Regions from separate parts of the Homo sapiens genome. Here region 2 is linked to region 1. The links are contacts of gene promoters, found by promoter capture Hi-C in human tissues and cell types (Jung and others, 2019). All regions are on one chromosome and are shown on one strand. The core of a region is centred on a gene start or on the middle of the fragment in contact, and the rest is flanking DNA. Distances in the headings are between cores, read along the strand shown. Region 1 holds the start of GALNT8 (polypeptide N-acetylgalactosaminyltransferase 8). Region 2 overlaps GALNT8 (polypeptide N-acetylgalactosaminyltransferase 8).

Evidence for each region. Contacts are between HindIII fragments. The study calls those that stand out against the background at their distance.
Region 2: a fragment that was not itself captured here is called in contact with the fragment with the promoter of GALNT8 in region 1 in 1 of the 25 tissues and cell types used here (dorsolateral prefrontal cortex).

The regions. Positions count from the first base shown.
Region 1 is chr12:4,718,969-4,721,770 of GRCh38, reverse strand. GALNT8 (polypeptide N-acetylgalactosaminyltransferase 8) reads right to left here and starts at 1,371. Exons shown (of 11, transcript NM_017417.2): 1 at 883-1,371. The coding sequence starts at 1,093. GAU1 (GALNT8 antisense upstream 1) reads left to right here and starts at 1,669. Exons shown (of 4, transcript NR_110112.1): 1 at 1,669-1,906. RefSeq lists enhancers at 1-258, 259-1,254, 1,255-2,250. The HindIII fragment of the contact is 21,668 bases long and covers 1-2,802 here.
Region 2 is chr12:4,764,042-4,766,843 of GRCh38, reverse strand. GALNT8 (polypeptide N-acetylgalactosaminyltransferase 8) reads right to left here. Exons shown (of 11, transcript NM_017417.2): 9 at 2,797-2,802; 10 at 1,298-1,465. Among named protein-coding and RNA genes, the nearest start is that of KCNA6, 44 kb to the left of the region's middle. RefSeq lists an enhancer at 2,569-2,802. The HindIII fragment of the contact is 3,209 bases long and covers 1-2,802 here.

The sequences.
Region 1 (2,802 bases), core at 122-2,621:
TGCTGAGGAGGATTAGTAAAAGAGGAAGGAACGCCTTTCTGCAGTTGAGACAAGAGGAAGGCATCTGTCTCCTGCCCGTCCCTGGGCAATGGAATGTCTCGGTGTAAAACCCGATTGTATATTCCATCTACTGAGATAGGAGAAAACCGCCTTAGGGCTGGAGGTGGGACATGCGGGCAGCAATACTGCTGTTTAAGGCATTGAGATGTTTATGTGTATGCATATCTAAAGCACAGCACTTAATTCTTTACCTTGTCTATGATGCAGAGACCTTTGTTCACGTGTTTATCTGCTGACCTTCTCTCCACTATTATCCTATGACCCTGACACATCCCCCTCTCCGAGAAACACCCAAGAATGATCAATAAATACTAAGGGAACTCAGAGGCTGGCGGGATCCTCCGTATGCTGAACGCTGGTCCCCTGGGCCCCCTTATTTCTCTCTACATACTTTGTTTCTGTGTCTTTTTCTCTTCCAAAGTCTCTCGTTCCACCTAACGAGAAACACCCACAGGTGTGGAGGTGCAACCCACCCCTTCAATAGGCCTAAGGACAGGTCTATGGCCCTTGGGATTCTTATTCTTCTCGTTGCCTGCACATATGTAGATATAATGATAATGCATGTGCACAAGCCCACACACGCATACACACACACATGCTCACCTCCCCCATACTGCTTGCTCTAATTTCCACTTCTACTCACTTCATTCTCAATACCCATCTCCCATTTGAAGGCACAGAATTCAGTGTCAGATGCTTCAATGAGCGACTGAGATGAAAATGTGACCTCTCACCCATTTTTCCTTCCATATCCCTTTTTCCTAAGTGCCCCAAACACACACACCCACACACACACCTTCCAGGTTAGCATTGTAAACTTACTCAGATCCTGCAATTCCACCTCCAAGTGGGAGAGTCTCTTTATCACTGCCCCGTAGCGTTTATTCAGATGTAAAGGAAGCTCCCTGTGGAGACCACCCGTAAACAGGTTTTGTAAAGTCCCCTTGCTAGAAAATACCAGAAGGAGATTGACAGCAATGGCCAGAGTCAGCCCAATGAAGAGGGCTTTGGGGAGTTTCCTCCAAAACATCATCTTCTTCCTGGGGGTCGTCCACTCCCTGTGGGACTGAGTGTGTCACTGCTGGAGCAGGTTAAGAATCAGAACCAGCCTAGCTTTTGTGGGAAAGAGAGTTCTAGGTGCCAGTTGAGTTGGTCTCCCCTGTGTGAGACACCCATGGGAAGCCACGGGTGGCCTCTGAGGAGCAAAGTCTCCTTATTGCCTTCTTTGTCTTTATGCCCCGAGAGGATAACCGCTCAGCGGCTTTCCACAGGTTGCTCAGCGGCTTTCCACAGGTTGCTCAGGGAGATAACACTCCCTTGAAGCAGAGGAGTATAATCAAACATCTTGGCTCCTCCTGAAACCCACTCCCACCCATTTCAGTCATTAAAGATCTTAAGTAGTTTAGACACACGCCTTTGCTCAAGGAAATTCACAGAAACCGCCACTGTTACACATCTTATCGAATGACTCACTGATTAATCCTTTTCCTCATCCCTTCCTCCCCTTCCCATCTGCCCTAAGAACAAAGAGCTTGTAAACCAATAAATTGGGTGGAGCCCAGAGCTCTGGGCCGTGAGCAAGCCTCCAACGCTCTGGTCCCCTGGACCTGCCTTTTAAACGCTTGTTCTGTCTCTTTCTAACTCCTTTGTCTCCGCCGGACTCGGGGTATCCGCTGGGTGGTGTGGGGCTGGTTTCCCCAACAGCTTTCTCTCCACCCAGCTTCATAGATGACACCCTGCCTGCTAGGCCAGATGTTCTCCGGCCAAGAACACTATTATAGCTGCCTGGCTTCTCCCTGAGCAGCGTCAGGTGTGAGGAGTGCGCATGGCAGCTGCCCAGTGACAGGTAAGTCACCTGGACACACCTTGTACTGTCTCAGAAGTCAGAAGAATGCTTGCTCCTGCAGCTAGCTCAGGCTGCCTGGGTGAGAGGCTTTTCTCTATATATGTTTGTTTGATGTTTAATGTTCTCTCTCCCTGGAAAAACCACCTGGGAGACTCTGATAGGGCATGTGAGGTCTGGTCCTGTGGGTATAAGAAGGGGATAAATAGGATGAAGAAGAAATCACGAAGCAAGAAGTCTCTGTACACTTAGATCCTTGCTTTTTTGGAGAGCTGGGATCTAAGATGTCTTTTTACCTAACTCTACAGGGTTTTGGACATAGTAGGTGTGCAACAAATGCTTGTCCCACAAACTTAAGGACAGACTTTCTTGCTAGTTCCTAGGACTTCACTGCCTAGAAGCAGGTGGAGAAGAGCTGGAGGCGGTGCCCGGGGTTGAGCCTCAGGGGATGACTCCGATTCACTGGTCTCTGTCCTTTGCTTGTCCTCTGCACAACTTCATACACTGGGCTTCTGCCCTGCCCCAGCTTCCAGTAACTCCTTTGCCTCCACACCTCACACTTATAATATGTTTTGGACAAATCACCAGTGATCATCATTGTAGAATAAACACATAAAATTGTTCCCCAAGGCTAAAAGTTCAAAGTTCTCAGTCTACTGTCAATCCCGTCAAAATCACAGCTTCCACCCCGGCCTGGCTCTTTGGACTATTTACTACGTCCCAAACACAGCACATGGTGACATGTGCTGAGGCGGACATGTGGATTAAAGGAAAGTAATGTGGCTTTAGGAAAAACAGGATGAAAATGAACAAAATGAAAAGGAATCACTTCTTCTGTTTCGCAGGGATAGAAAATGTCTCCCAGCCTCCCACTTGCAAATTAGACTCAAAACATAAGA
Region 2 (2,802 bases), core at 141-2,640, 45 kb before region 1:
TCTCAAAGGGGTCATTAACTTTGAAAAGTTAGAAACTGTTGAACTAGATTGTCCGTGTGGCACCTGAACCAAGCATAGTACCGCATTCAGAGACACAGTCAGAGACAGAGCAGTAGCTCCCTCCAGGAGGTACTGCCCCTTCCTAATGAATTGGCCCAAGAGTGCAGAAGCTTTTGGAGCAAGCCCATCCATTATAAATTCCCCACAGACTGTTGTCAGCCAAGACCCTCGCGTCATCATCACATGAATTCTGCCAGATTCCCTCCGCCCTGTCCTTGGTCATTTGATATTGAAGTTAAAGGCAGAGCTTCTACATTAGCCTCTGTCAGATTTCAGCATAGTATTCCACACCCTCTGATAATCATTAATAATAAATGGATCACAATGGCTAATGCGTATTGAACACTCTTCTGCTCCAGGCACCACGTGAAATGCTTTACACACGCTATCTCATTTAATCCTCCCAAAAGTCGCATACAGAAGATATTATCATCTCCATCATTTTATAATGAGGAAACTGAGCTTCAGAGAGGGTAAGGAAATTGCTATACTGAGCTAGGACTTGTGCCCAAACTCTCAACCGTTCAGCTACAACAGACTCCAATATTTCTTCTCCTTAACCACCCTGCCTTAGTCAAGAGACTCAGTGTTTCTTACCAGTTCCCTGTTTCCAATATTTTCCCTACACGGGGCCACAAGAAGTAATTCTCCTAAAACACTATCAAATCAAATCTGAACCTTTCATATACCTATCATTTAAAAAACATGTAACTCGCCAGGCACAGTGGCTCACACCTGTAATCCCAGCGCTTTGGGAGGCTGAGTCGGGCGGATCACGAAGTCAGGAATTCAAGACCAGCCATGGTGAAACCCCGTCTCTACCAAAGACACAAAAATTAACTGGGCATGGTGGCATGTGCCTGTAATCCCAGCTACTCAGAAGGCTGAGGCAGGAGAATTGCTTGAACCAGGACCTGGGAGGCAGAGGTTGCAGTGAGCCAAGACTGCAATATTAGGTAACACACCAGAAATTACATGATCACCTCCCTTTTCAATTTTTGTGTTCTTGACATAGTGGCCATAGAAATGGACCCAGACTGTAGGTTAGAATGGTTGGCAGAATTTCCCTGGATGTCCTGCCTTCCAGATCTCACAGCCAACCCAAATCTCTTTTCTGTCAGTAGCCTCAGTCAGCTGAGAAGCCACTGCACTCTAGCCTGGGCTGCAGAGCAAGACTCAGTCTCAAAACAAAACAAAACAAAACAAACAAACCAACAAACAAAAACACATAACTCACCGGTTTAAAATCCCAATATATATGCAGTCTATTCTTAGCTGCCTTGGAGCATGGTTCTAAGGTGGGCTTCTCCGCCTTGCCAGGGTCTGTCAGGCAGCGATCACTAGCACTGGCCTCTGCAATCAGTTGTCCCACATAGAGCTCCCCAGTTAGGTGATAGTAGACATTCTAAAAAAAAAAAAAAAAAAAAAAAAGCAGAGGGCTCACCATAGGCATTGTCAGCCAGCAGGAGACCCTAGCCCGAGGGACAGCAGGAAGAATGATCTTGGGGCCCCTAGACACCCAGTCACACCAAGAGCACTGAACCTTCCTGGACAACATGAAGCAACCTCTGCTTCCTTCTCCTTAGTCTCTCCTTGAATCCAGGGAGAAGGCCAGGCCTAGGAGGGTTCCAACAGAATCATAGCTTACATGGATGAAGAAGCTTGTCTTTGAAGAAAAAACAAAACTGAACTCCAGAATCTGTCACTGCAGGCCTCAGCTATGGGTTTGTTGTCAGAAAACCTTTCAAATTCCTGGTCTGACACTATCTTGCTCAGTGAGCTTGGACAAGTAGGTTATTAATGTGTCTCCATTTTTTCAACTAAGTGCAAATGATATCTATTGTGCATGCCTCAAAAGGTTGCTATGAGGGCAGCATGCAAAGTAAGAAGACAGATGTGAATATTGTCCCTAAAAAAAAAAAAAAATGTCCAGGCCAGGTGCGGCGGCTCCAGCCTATAATCCCAGCACTTTGGGAGGCCAAGGTGGGCGGATCACGAGATCAGGAGATCGAGACCATCCTGGCTAACATGGTGAAACCCCGTCTCTGCTAAAAAAAAAAAAAATACAAAAAATTAGCCGGGCATGGTGGCAGGTGCCTGTAGTCCCAGCTACTAGGGAGGCTGAGGCAGGAGAATGCCGTGAACCCAGAAGGCAGAGCTTGCAGTGAGCTGAGACCGCGCCACTGCACTCCAGCCTGGGCGACAGATCGAGACTCTGTCTCAAAAAAAAAAAAAAAAAAAAAAAAAAAAAAATCCCCTGACTGCACCTTCCACATGGTGCCAGGGCCCTTCCATCCCTTGGAGGAGCGTCTGCTCAGCCTCTATCCTCTCTAGCTCTGCTTCCTTCGCTATAGGAGAAGCACAGGTGGCTTCACCTGTCCACTTTCCCAGGCTTTCCAGTAGCAGTGAGAAGATGGCGGGAGCAGTGGGAGGAGGGGAAAAGGAAGGGACCAGAGGTGATTGTCAATGCAAATATCACCATGCAGAATGAATGTGACAGAGCATAGCTTTTCTACCTATCCTCCCTGTAACTGAAATGGAACTACGTTGCCACGGCTTTCTGAAGAAACTAAGACGTGCTCAGTTACAAGTGCAGGTCTGGATTTCACCCTTACCCAGGATGCTCCGCTCCTGCCTCCCCATCACGTATCACGGAGTCCAGACCCAGCAATGGTTACCAGGGGCTGAGCCACGACAGACTTGCCCAGGCAGGGCCAGGAAGATTGTGGAAGATACCTGTGA